2 separate regions of the Homo sapiens genome follow, and region 2 is linked to region 1. Evidence: promoter capture Hi-C in human tissues and cell types (Jung and others, 2019). All regions are on one chromosome and are shown on one strand. The core of a region is centred on a gene start or on the middle of the fragment in contact, and the rest is flanking DNA. Distances in the headings are between cores, read along the strand shown. Region 1 holds the start of IGSF6 (immunoglobulin superfamily member 6). Region 2 overlaps VWA3A (von Willebrand factor A domain containing 3A).

Evidence for each region. Contacts are between HindIII fragments. The study calls those that stand out against the background at their distance.
Region 2: a contact is called between a fragment that was not itself captured here and the fragment with the promoter of IGSF6 in region 1, in 1 of the 25 tissues and cell types used here (lymphoblastoid cells).

Annotation. Positions count from the first base shown.
Region 1 is chr16:21,649,942-21,656,704 of GRCh38, reverse strand. It overlaps IGSF6 (immunoglobulin superfamily member 6), which reads left to right and starts at 4,097. Exons shown (of 6, transcript NM_005849.4): 1 at 4,097-4,173. The coding sequence starts at 4,107. It overlaps METTL9 (methyltransferase 9, His-X-His N1(pi)-histidine), which reads right to left. Exons shown (of 5, transcript NM_016025.5): 5 at 1-1,478. The coding sequence ends at 1,273. The HindIII fragment of the contact is 6,081 bases long and covers 116-6,196 here.
Region 2 is chr16:22,099,712-22,106,474 of GRCh38, reverse strand. VWA3A (von Willebrand factor A domain containing 3A) reads right to left here. Exons shown (of 34, transcript NM_173615.5): 4 at 6,157-6,281; 5 at 5,982-6,059; 6 at 2,946-3,000. Among named protein-coding and RNA genes, the nearest start is that of VWA3A, 11 kb to the right of the region's middle. The HindIII fragment of the contact is 8,634 bases long and covers 1-6,763 here.

The sequences.
Region 1 (6,763 bases), core at 2,848-5,347:
GAGAATACTTAATGAAACACCTGGATGAAAAAAGAAATAAAGTAGTGAGGATAACATATTGTTAATAACCACAATCTCATATTGACATTTCTGTTATTACTGAGATTTCAGATTCTGGGTTAAATGCTCTGCTCTTTGGAATATCCACGATGGTTATTGATCTTGCTAATGGGTTCCTCTATGGCAGCATTTCTGGGTTTATGGTTGGAGGCACTCACGGATTCCAGAATGCATGAGTCTGACACGGTCTTCATCAAACCATATTCTTGGCAAATAATAAACTCCTTTAAGGATTTCAGGGAAGAGCCAAGCTCTGGGAGAGAGGTATATAAGTGTAGAGTAAGAAGTTGAATTAAAACATTTTTAGTTGCATTTTGTCAGTAGACAAAACTGAATGTTTCAATTCTGAGAACCTGAGATTGTCCAGAAAAAAACAAAGTTCAGTGTATGGGACATGAGTGATCACAAAGTCAGAACCAGGTTATTTTGCATTTTTCACAGCAGCATTAACTGGGGGGGTGGGGGGAGGGGTCCCTGAAGTTCTGTATCTGAATGAGGCTGGGTTTTTGTTTCTGTTTTTTTTTTTTACTGACTCAGTGTTCACTGCAATTTGCAATAATCTCCCCTTCCCCCAAGTCTGAAGCCTTCCTTCCCCCCTATTCAAATTGTCTGCGTCATTCTCATAATGCTACTATTTGGGTACTCCTGAAGCCAAACCAATAAAAAATGCTAGGGGAGCTTTATATGAATTCAAACATGATGCCAAAGTCATCTCCAAAAAAGTTTATTAGCATGATTAAAAACATTTTCTTGAATAATAACAGAAAGAATTTCTAAACATGAAAGAATATCAGTGGCTATACCTTAAAACCAGTATTTGGAATTGAATGGACAGCTTTATTGCCAGTCTTCAAAAAACAATCCATTGATTGGTTCCATGAAGTCGTGACTATTGCTTTGTCTGGGAATGAGTCCCTACTGCAATTAAGTATAAAAAATATCTTCCATCATAATTGGAGTGTGACCTGCATTGGAGAGTGGCTCTGAGTAAAGAGTTGATAAAAATCCACAAAGAGTTGGGTTTTTGTCTTTTAAAAACATTCCTTTACACACTACAAAGAAATAATTAGTATTTTGGCTTTTTAAATTCCTACATGATATTTAGAATGGCGGTCCCCAAGGGTCCTCCCTTCACGTAATTGTGAACACAGACCCTCTTCCAAGGGCACATCCCGGAGGGTGCGGACTCTGAAGACTTCGACCTCCACGTGTTTATACTGGTTTGAGAACAAAGACAGCGTCATCCAGAACGTAGTAGTCATTATACATGTCGCCTTCACACAGGTATGGTAGTCTGGTGAAAGCTTCGATAACAAAACCAGCTTTTCTGAAAACTTCAGGCAGACTATTCACTTGTTCTTCCCAGTTCTGTCCTTTGATTTCCAAAATTTCTGATGGTTTCTCCCACTTGCCACCTACTAATACAAATAAGAACATTCAGTTAAATTCTTGAACAAACAAGTGATTTAAAGAGGGAAGCAGGGAGGAGCCATATCTACCAAGGACTTGGTACGTTCCAAGCCTGAGGGCTTCATGAGTTACCTCTTTTGTACTTCCCAGGTACTCTTTGAGACAGGTGGGCAGATAAAGAACAGACTCAGAAGGGGTGAAGAACTTGCCCACGCTTGCAAGGTTAATGAGTGTCAGTATGGAAATGTAAGCCCAGGTTTGTCTGGATCCAAGGCCCCACACTGTTATCTTCTCTGACAGTTTTGGGTAGTATCTGCCAATAGACTGACTGCAGGGTGTAATGGTTAATGGGTTTGGAAAACTGGTCATTAAATGCTGGAATACTGAAACAGAGAGCAACATGTAATATCTGAAGGACAGTTTTGGACAAATGCAAGAAAATACCACTGGCATAGTAAACTTATGCAACTTACTACCTAGAGAGATTTATTAGGCTGAAAATAAAAACAGGCTCATGAAGGATTTTAATTTAGAAAAGCAGATCATTGGGGAGTTTTTCTAGGGAAGTTGACTCATTCTTTGCCTTTTCAGAACAATTTCATAAACATTAAGCTCCAGGACCAGAGAGAGATGGAACAGTAGGATGGATACACCGTCCAGCATTTCTTGGACTAGAGATGAAGCCTCTATCAGTCATTTCCAAACCTATGAGCAGGAGATGCCTGGGGGACAAGGGGACTAGGGAAGGTCCTCAAATTCACATACAAACCTGGCACTGACTACAGACACACACACAGAGATGACAGTATATTTAACTTTGGGGGTACTTTTTAGGTGCTATGGTGATACAAAAACTACATACATCTGTTGAAGTGTTAAAACCAGATTGAGGCCGGGCGTGGTGGCACATGCCTGTAATCCCAGCACTTTGGGAGGCCGAGGTGGGCGGATCACGAGGTCAGGAGATCAAGACCATCCTGACTAACACAGTGAAACCCCGTCTCTACTAAAAAAAATACAAAAAAATTAGCTGGGCATGGCAACATGCACCTGTAGTCCCAGCTACTTGGGAGGCTGAGGCAGGAGAATGGTGTGAACCCGGGAGGCGGAGCTTGCAGCGAGCCAAGATCGTGCCACTGCACTCCAGCCTGGGCGACAGAGCGAGACTCTGTCTCAAAAAAAAAAAAAAAAAAAAAAACAAAACAGACTGAGAATAACTTTCTGTTAATGAGAAAATATATCATGAGCAGATGCCAAGGGCACAGACATCATATCATGGTGGGGAGATTTTTCATAATTTTCAGTGGTGCAGATGACGCTCTTCCCATGTCTGGGGAATTGCCTGCCCAGAGTCTGGGAGAGACACAAGGCCTGGGAGCCGCTTTCCTGGCCTGCCGTGCAGCTGAGGCACTGGCACGCAGCCTAAGCCAGGCACACTTGCCCATGCCCTGGAATGGAGAGCCAGTGACCCAGAGTAGTGGGGATGTGAGCTTCTCCTTCTCTGGGGGTGGAGCAATGGCAGTGAGACCAAGGGGCTGGGGCAGTGGTTGAGCGATGCTGACAACAGGGCTGATGGCACCTAGTGTTTGGCAGTGGCAGTAGCATCCTCTTCAGACCTGTTTATGGTGTGATTTGAGGCATTCTTCCTGGCTGTGGACCCCACACAAGATTCACTAGCCCTCCCAGTGACTCTAGGATCTACCTTCAAATGTTTGCATAAATTTCCTTTTAAGTCAGCCTGAGTCTGTTTCTGCTGCTTTACAAAGAAGACCCTTACTGAATCACCACTAAGTGCTGGGGGAGAGGACACAGAGGACAGAGGGCCCACATATTTGTTTCTCAACACATTAAAAGGGGGTCTTTGGGCCAGGCATGGTGGCTCACACCTGTAATCCTAACACTTTGGGAGGCCAAGGCAGGGGGATCGCTTGAGGGCAGGACTAGCCTAGACAACACAGAATCTACAAAAAAAAAAAAAAATTAGCCAGGGGTGGTGGTGCATGCCTGTAGTCCCAGCTACTCAGGAAGCTGAGGCTGCAATGACCTGCAATCTTGCCACTGCATTCCAGCCTGGGTGATAGAGACCCTGTCAAAAAAGGGGGGAAGGCAGGTGTCTTTGGATTCAAAACTGGAGTACAAAAAGTTAATAACAGACAATTTATTTATTCGCTGCATTAGAATGTGTTGTTTACTAACTTTTCTCATCTCTACACAAAGCCACTTCTCCTTCTGCTGTTCTTTGTTCCCAGCAGTTACTGGCCCAGAGTGGCACCCAGAGCAGGTACCCTAGACAGTGACTGAACTGTTCTGAAAAATCCAAGTACGAATTATTTGTCAAACAATACTCCTTCCTGGAAATATGTGCTAGGTGTAAATCAAAATCTCACCCAGAAACATCTAACACCTATGACAACTGTAAAATCCATGGAAAAAAAAAAGATATGCACATTTCTAAATGTGCTCCAGGCCAAAATCTCAATGTTAAATGGTGAAGCCATCCTTGCACAATTTCAAAAAGTTCCTGATTATGGTTCCTTCATAAGAGGTTCCTCTCTTCAGCTCTTCTTCCCTTCTGAAAAAAGAAAGCCAACTTTCCTTTCAAATACACACCCCAACCCGCCCCGGCATACACAGAAATGGGGACTGCGAGCAGAAGCAACATCGCTCGCCATCTGCAAACCAATCTCATTCTATTTTGTGTCGGTAAGGTTCTTTTTCTTCTCCTCCTTCATTTTATTTAAATCAACTGCTATTTTTCACCTAATGCATTTATATTTTAAGCTCCTTCAGATTAATTTTTAAATGTATAACATTATGAAAACTGCCTAAGAGGATAAGTTTCCTTTTTCCCCTGAGAAATAGACAATAAAAAAATAGCTGAGAAAAAGTTTCATATTAACCTTGAAAAGTCTCTTTGCTATTATGCTAATTGGAGACAATCTGACCAAAGGGTTGAAAATATTCTTAAAATCGTAGGTATAAGTTATCAATAATTTAATTATCATACAAACTTGATCTGCACATAGAAAGCAATAAATGATTATTTGCTGAATATTTTCAAAGAACAATTTCTATAAAAGTACTTTTCATTTAAGAAAAAAAAAACTGCCATGACTCCAATAGCCATCCCATAGTATATCTATTTTTAAAATTCTGTCTACTTCTGTTTTTTTATCTATGAAAGAGAAAGGATTTCCAATACATCTAGTAATCTCAGATTTGCCCACACAATTTGGATTATAGGGCAGGGAAGGGGGGAAAGTTCTTAATTTTTTCTCATCTGTGAAGAAATATATCAAAATGTTAATGGGAGTTATTTCAGGCAAAAGGACTATGGGTGACTTTTTGCTTCTACTTTTAATAACCTGTTTTTTGCTAATAAGTATATATTACTTTCATAGACTATTTTAATTAGCATTATTTTAAAGAAGAATTCCTGTCTTTTAGAGATATATTCTGAAAGATGCAGATAAAATGGCTGGGATTTGCTCTAAAATAATATGGGAGTGAGGGAGTAGGTGGGAGGAGAAAAGAAACAAGATTGGGTCGAAGCCATGTGATGGCAGGGGGTTGACTGTACTACTTCGCTACTTTGATATGTTAGAAATTTGAAATCTAATATAATAAAGCTTTGGGCTGGGCGTGGTGGTTCATGCCTGTAATCCCAGCACTTTGGGGGCCAAGGTGAGAGGATCACTTGAGCTCAGGAGTTCAAGACCAGCATGAACAACATAATGAGACCCCCATTTCTACACAAGAAAAAAAAATAGCTGGGCGTGATGGCACCTGCACTGCACCTGCAGTCCCACCCACCTGGGAGGCTGAGGCAGGAGGATCACTTGAGCCCAGGACTTTCAGGCTATAGGGAGCTGTGATTGTGCCACTGCACTCCAGCCTGGGCAACAGAGCAAGACATTTACTTACTTCTTACTTACTAGATAGAGAGACAGCTTTGTTTAAATGTCAAGAATTAGTTCTCTTCCTACTTTCAATATGGCTTTTTTGTTTGTTTGAGACGGAGTCTCGCTCTGTCACCCAGGCTGGAGTGCAGTGGCAAGATCTCGGCTCACTGCAAGCTCCGCCTCCCGGGTTCACGCCATTCTCCTGCCTCAGCCTCCCGAGTAGCTGGGACTACAGGCATCTGCCACCACACCCGGCTAATTTTTTGTATTTTTAGTAGAGACAGCGTTTCACCGTGTTAGCCAGGATGGTCTCGATCTCCTGACCTCGTGATCCGCCCGCCTCGGCCTCCCATAATGCTGGGATTACAGGCATGAGCCACCATGCCCAGCCTCAATATGGTTTTTTAAAATAATAAGAATAATCTTTCTATTCCCTCCATGGAGGAAATAAATCTTCAACCTTTTCATTGGATACTGTGTTTAAAAAACAATTCCTAGAATATGAGGATTCTTAAAAGAAATCATTCACAGAAGCAGGCTGTGGTGTGACATATCCAAACTTCTCTTTTTTGTTAATAGGTTGCCTAACTGGTTGGGGGAGGGAACCACAGTTTCATCACAAGTTCCTGCTCACAGAGGAAATCATTACAATTGGTTTTCTCCCACACATAGCCTAATTGGGAAGAAGGTGGAAATAAGTAGAGATATGAAATTCCAAAGTTACAAATACCTGTTTTTATCCTATACTACTAGTTTTTAAAGAAAAGTGTTGAAAGTCAGCTATCCCCGCCACCCCAACCTCTATTTTTTTTTTTTTTTTTTTTGAGACAAGAGTCTCACTCTGTCACCCAGGCTAGAGTGCAGTGGCACAATCTCAGCTCACTGCAACCTCCACCTCCTACGTTCAAGCGATTCTCCTGCTTCAGCCTCCCAAGTAGCTGGGATTACAGGCGTCCACCACCACACCTGGCTAATTTTTTGTATTTTTAGTAAAGATGGGGTTTTACCATGTTGGCCAGGCTAGTCTCGAACGCCTGACCTCAGGTGATCTGCCCGCCTCGGCATCCCAAAGTGCTGGGATTACAGGCGTGAGCCACCATGCCCAGCCTCTATTCCTTTTATAGAGACAGGATCTCACAATGCTGCCCAGGCTGGAGTGCACGTCCAGACTCTATTCCTTTAATAGAGACAGGGACTCACAATGCTGCCCAGGCTGGAGTGCAGTGGTGCCATCACAGCTCACTGCAGCCTGGAATTCCTGGGCTCAATCAGCCTCCGGTCTCAGCCTCCTGAGTAGCTGTGACTAATGGCCACACCACCACGCCTGGCTCTTTGGCTTCCCTTTTAAAAACACTACCCAATTTGGAAGGCTGAGGCGAGTGGATTGCTTG
Region 2 (6,763 bases), core at 1,478-3,977, 450 kb before region 1:
CCACACTTTCTTTAGGTGCCTGTTCAAATGCCTCCTCTTCAGAGTGAGTATCTTCAACCATTCCATTTATTTATTTTTTATTTTATTTTTGAGAGGGAGTCTCACTCTGTCTCCCAGACTGGAGTGCAGTGGCACGATCTCGGCTCACTGCAACCTCTGCCTCCTGGGTTCAAGCAATTCTTCTGCTTCAGCCTCTCTAGTAGCTGGGATTACAGGCGCCCATCACCACGCCTGGCTAATTTTTGTGTTTTTAGTAGAGACGGGGTTTCAGCATTTTGGCCAGGCTGGTCTCAAACTACTGACCTCAAGTGATCCATCTGCCTCGGCCTCCCAAAGTGCTGGGATTACAGGTGTGCACCACCACGCCCGGCCTCAACCATTCCATTTAAATAGTCCTGTTCCACCCTCTGTTCCCTTACTCAGCTTTGTTTCTTTTTACAGCACGTAAGCTCCATGAAGGCAGGACCTTAGTATTGGTCATGTTTTTTCCCCCGACAGCGAACCATTCCTTCAGCAAGTACTGGTCATGTTGGTAGTCTCAATCCTAGAACAGTGCCTGATATACAATAATCACTCAATACATGTTTGTTGAATTCATGACCCAAATATTCTAGGGTATTGCCAATCTGGAGGCAAGAAGTTGAAATCTAGAGCCAGTTCTATTTTTTTAAATTAAAAACAAGCTGCCATGAGGGCTTTACAGCTTTTGGAATTGAAAACATTCATTCCCTAAACCTAGCCATTGAAGTTCTAGACATTTATTCCATAGAAATAACTGGACAAGTACATAAGAGGCAATTGGAGCCTGGTAATACCAGATATTCTCATTTTTCAAGAGAAGTCTGATAGCAGACATAAAAGTGAAATACCAGGATTTAAAAAATCTTGGCAACTAATTTGAAAAATAGTTAAAATTAGGGAGCCTAAACAGAATGGCTGTGGGCCAGATTTGGCCTGCATGCCACTAGTTTATAACTTCTCCTTTTATCCTCTGCAGACACAGATCCAGAGAAGCGAGGCCACTTTCTAGGGCCTTAGTGACAGAGCAGAACAGGAACAGGGACCAGCGATTATCTGGCCATCACCTCAGGCTGCCTGCCTCAACACCCAGGGACCTGGTAAGCTGATTTACAGGTGATCGTTTCCCTGGGCTCTTCCATGGTTTCTCTGTAGCTCCGTCAGAAAGGGGTGGCAGGATGAAGGGGCTATCAATCCCCGCCCACTTTGACAAAGGTGCGAGGATGGGGTAGTGGAGGTCGGGGGGTGAGAGCAGCATGCCCTACGTGGATGCCTATGGAGTATGGGAGGATTTCATTCCCGTGGGGTCTCTCTGCCTGTTACCATGGGCAACCAGAGGGGTCCAGCTATAGCTGCAGACAAGCATCTGTTGACTCAACTCGTCCAAGCAAGTGAAGGAGGTTCTGGATCTGAGGTGAAGACCACAGCCTGGAATTGGCGGGACAGGCAGGCTTAGCACTATGTTGTTACCCACTAGTCTTGGGTAGAGGTGGGGATTGGGAGTAGGGAGCATGACTTTTAGCATCTGCATCTGGGTAGAGGTGGGGACTGGGAGTAGGGAGCATGACTTTTAGCATCTGCTTTTCCCAGGGTTTAAGGCAAGAGCTGAAGATTGTGCCTAAGGTGGAAGCAAACGGGAAGCCAGAAAAGTGCCAGTTGATGGCAATTAAGCTAAAACAAACAAGAAAGCAAATCAAAGTGTTCATTTGCCCATGGTCACTCTTCTACCCTTGGGTTCTGAGAAAAACATTTAATTAAAAAAAATTTTTTTTTTTTAAAAGACAAGTCTTGCTCTGTTGCCCAGGCTGGAGTGCAGTGGCAAAATCATAGCTCACTGCAGCCTTGAGGCTCCTGGGCTCAAGAAATCCTTCTGCCTCAGCCTCTCAAGTAGCTGGGACTACAGGTGTGCACCACTATGCCTAGCCCTTAATCAAACTTTTGTGGGTTTTCTTTTCGTTTGTTTGTTTTGAGAGGGAGTCTCACTGTGTCTCCCAGGCTAGAGTGCAATGGCGTGATCTCGGCTCACTGCAAACTCCACCTCCTGAGTTCAAGCGATTTTCCTGCCTCAGCCTCCTGCATAGCTGGGATTGCAGGCTTGCACGACCACGCCCAGGTAATTTTTTGTATTTTTAGTAGAGATGAGGTTTCACCATGTTGGCCAGGCTGCTCTTGAACTCCCAACCTCAGGTGATCCACCTACCTAGGCCTCTCAATGTGCTGGGATTACAGGCCTGAGCCACCATGCCCAGCCCTTAATCAAACTTTTAAGAAAAGTGATATCCAGATGATCAGCCTTAGTCTTCTAAATCTCATTGCGGGTCTAAAGTCAAATGCCCAGTGCACATCTGCATTCTCACCTGCCCAGCACCCATTCCCCCTTCTGGTAACAGTGCTCTGGCCTTCCACATGCAACCATCTGTCTCTCTTTTTCAGTCCATGAGGGCTGGGGGGCTAATCCAGTCTCTTTCCCCTTCCCCCCTGTCTTTTATTTTATTTTATTTTTGCCCCAGAAGTCAGCACTAGTTCCAGGCCTAGTCAAATAGTGATAGTATATTTCATCTCCTTGGCTATGATGATTGGTGTAAATTGGTCAATGAGAGTCAGTCCCAGGATTTGGAAGTTGTGCAGGGAACAGGAAGTGAAGTTCCTTTTTACTGGAGCTGCTGATCACCACCTTCCTATGCCTGAAGAGAGATGTCCTGAGAATAAAACCAACTCAGGAAAGCAGAGCCCACAGGCATAGAGGTGACATCATCTGAGCACCTGGATCCAGCTGTGGCTGGGGTTTTCATTTACTTAGGTTAGTAAATGCCTTTTTTTAGCTTAAGCAATTTATATTGGAGGTCTACATTTGCAACTGAAAGGGTTCTAACAAATACAAATGGAATGAGTGAAAGGGGGCAAAGAATGAAATCTATGCCCGTTACCTTCTTGCTGTTTTCTGTGAGCCACTGAATTCTCTCTTGATAGACTTCAATAGTGCTGTCAAGACATCAGAAAGACTCATCACCCAAGGCCAGCGTCATCACTGAGCAACAGCCACTTACATACACAAAAGGCAGGTATGAATAATTGTTTTTTTTTTTAATGTGCATAGGTTCTTGGAAGAAGGTGGTGAACCTTTTAGGTGCACTGTAGTGCACGCCTGTAGTCGTGGCTACTCAGGAGCCTGACGTGGGAGGATCACTTGAGGCCAGGAGTTCAAGACCAGCTTAAGCAACCTAGTGAAACCCTGTCTCTACAAAAAATAAAAAAATTTGCTGGGTATGGTGGTGCATGCCTGTAGTCCCAGCTACTCAGGAGGCTGAGGTGGGAGGATCACTTGAGCCCAGGAGTTCAAGGCTGCATGGAGTTATGATTGTTCCACTGCACTCAAGCCTGGGCACAATCGAGGAAAGACAAAACTGAAGATACTTGTTTGCCAGGGCACTAGGTATAAGGAGATTGTGAAAGGGATCGAGTGTATAGGTGCTGCTCTATTGGTGACACAGTGCACAGGATAAATGACAACGGTTTGGTGGATCAAGGGGTGGAATCAGGCCCTCCCAGACTTCAACCTGCTCATGTAACCTCGTCTCCTTTCTCCACATAGCTCACTCACTCTGTGCTCACTCTGCCCGGTGAGGGCAGGTCTGTGGAGGGTGGGGGAGGGTGTTCTTACGAGAAAGTTGGAAGACCACCCTTGCACTTGCTCAAATCTGTGTCTTCTCAGAAGGAATTGTTCCTAGTCTCCTGGAAACTGATCATAAAGGCACAACAGAGGCAGTTAAGCAATCGTTTCTACTGGATTGATTAACAAAAAACCTAGTTTCTGAAAAGTAGCTGGGGGACCTTCTTGAACTTGCCTTATTGCATGCCTGGCTTGCAATGACTGGTTGAAGACTAGCATATATCATATGCACAAGGTAAGGACTAGGTCACTTTAATTTAATTGACTTGTTCTTACTGGGGGCAGGTGAGATTTGGGGGCCTAGAGAGGGACAAAAAAGGTCTTTGGAAATGAGATCATGGGGCAGTGGGTGGTAGATAGAGTCATAAGGGATACATGAGTTATGAATAGAGCTAAGAAGATGAGCTTTATTTTTATCTTCTTCTTCTTTTTATTTGAGACAGGGTCTCACTCTGTTGCCCAGGCTGGAGTGCAGTGGTACGATCATGGCTCACTGCAGCTTCAACCTCCCTTGGCTCAGGTGATCCTCTCACCTCAGCCTTTAAGTAGCTGGAACTATAGATGCACACCACCACACCTGGCTAATTTTTATATTTTTTGTAGAGTTGGGGTTTCATCATTTTTCCCAGGCTGGTCTTGAACTCCTGAACTCAAGCGATCCTCCTGCCTTGACCTCCCAAAGTGATTACAGGTGTGAGCCACTTGTGCCCAGCTGAAGATGAGCTTTATAATAAAATATGTTTGTGTTTGAGATACAGCTCTGCCATCTACTAGCTGTGTGACCTTGGACAGGTGTGGTAACCTTTCTGAGCCCCAGTTTCACCATCTCCAACATGAAGGTAACAACAGGATTCTATCCAAGTCAATTTGCTAAAAGTCAATTTACTGAAAGCCAGTCCTCTGAAAATCAATTTGCCAAATGACCAGTTAGCTAAATAGACTTGAACATTCCTTAAAATACTGGATTCACAATTAAAACTGATAAACCAAGACATTGCAGAATTCTTTAAAACCTGTTTAAGCTTCCAACCTAATAAAAGTTACTATAAATTCTACAGTTAAATGGTTTTGAGAAATTTGAGCAACTGGTCATTCCATGAATGGCCATTCAGCAATTGACTTTTGGTTAACTGGCTTGAGAGTGATGGTTTTATAAGGGGAAACCCCTTTCTCTTGATTCTCATTCTCTCTTTCCTGGCTGCCTTGTAAGATGTCCCTTTGCTCTTCCTTCATCTTCTGCCATGAATGTGAGGCCTCCCCAGCCATGTGGAACTGTGAGTCCATTAAACCTCTTTCTTCTGTAAATTGCCCAGTCTCGGGTATGTCTTTATCAGCAGCATGAAAATGGACTAATACACATGTGCTATCAAAATCTGGTTTAGGAGTGGGGATGCATGCATGTTTTTGGCATATATTTGCAAAGTTATGAACGCAATCAATTTGACATTGAAAGTCATTACTCTTAACCATTAAACACCAGATGAAGCTGTGTCATCCAAGGGACTATGGATTTCATTTTATATTTTTTTAGAGATAGGGTCTTATTTTGTTGCCCAGGCTAGAGTGCAGTGGTGTGATCATAGCTCACTGCAGCCTCGAACTTCTGGGCTCAAGTGATCCTCCCACCTTGGTCTCTCAAAGCGCTAGGATTATAGGCATGGACCACCATGCCTGGCCCTAGACTATGGATTTGAAAAGGCTGAGAGACACTGATCTGGTCCAACCTTTCTATTTGAGAAAAGGGGAAATTGGGGCTAGAAGTGGGAAGAGACATGCTCATCTCCCTGAGTGGTAGTTTTTCCTTTTTTTTTTTTTTTTTTTTGAGACAGGGTCCCACTCTATTGCCCAAGGTCCCACAGAGATTGCTGTTTGAACAAAGTTACTTCCAGGCTACTGAAATGACATAATTCTTTCTTTTTCTTTTTCCTTTCTTTTTTTTTTTTTTGAGACAGAGTTATGCTCTTGTTGCCCAGGCTGGAGTGCAATGGTGTGTTCTTAGCTCACTGGAACCTCCACCTCCCGAGTTCAAGCGATTCTCCTGCCTCAGACTACAGGGTAGCTGGGATACAGGCATGCACCACCAGGACTGGCTAATTTTTTAAAAAAATATTTTTAGTAGAGACAGGATTTCACCATGTTGGCCAGCCTGGTTTCAAACTCTTGACCTCAAGTGATCCACCTGCCTCGGCCTCCCAAAGTACTGGGATTACAGGTATAAGCCACCATGCCCGGACTGAAATGACATAATTCTTGAGTTCTGTGGTGTTGGGAGGACAGTGAGAAACATACTTACTCAGAAAGCTTTGACTCAAAATGGCGGATGATCTGGGTGGAGAAACATATTTTCTGCACGACATTGGTGCCCTCCTCCCTGAAGAAGCAAAGCCTTATGAGGGGATCTCTCGGGCCCAGGGGGTTGCATGTGTCACTGCAGCTGTGGGGGGTGCGGGGAACAGCTTCAGACTTACAGCACTTCTGTGCCCTGGCTTATCAGGTCAGCCAAGGTGAGTTTCTGACATTTTAAACTGTGAGCCGAAAGCCAGTCTTCAGAGTCCTCCCAATCTGAAGACTGGGTCTCACTCCCCTGCAGCCTCTGCAAGACAAAAGCCAGAGTCAAACCGTGAAGTGGAAAGAGAGGGAAGGAAGAGGTTCCCTTCACACAGATACCCAACGGGCGCCAACTCAGACTGACCCTATCTTTTTTTTTTTTTGAGACGGAGTTTCGCTCTTGTCACCAAGGCTAGAGTGCAGTGGAATGATCTTGGCTCACTGCAACCTCTGCCTCCCAGGTTCAAGTGATTCTCCTGCCTCTGCCTCCCGAGTAGCTGGGATTACAGGCATGCACCACCACGCTTGGCTAATTTTTGTATTTTTAGTAGAGACAGGGTTTTGGCATTTTGGCCAGGCTGGTCTCAAACTCCTGACCTCAAGTGATCCACCAGCCTTGGCCTCCCAAAGTGCTGGGATTACAGGCATGGGCTGCTGTACCCAGCCCCCTGGTTTGTCCGTGTTAGAGACAGGGCCTCACTCTGTCACCCAGGCTGGAGTGCAGCGGTGTGATCATAGCTCACTGCA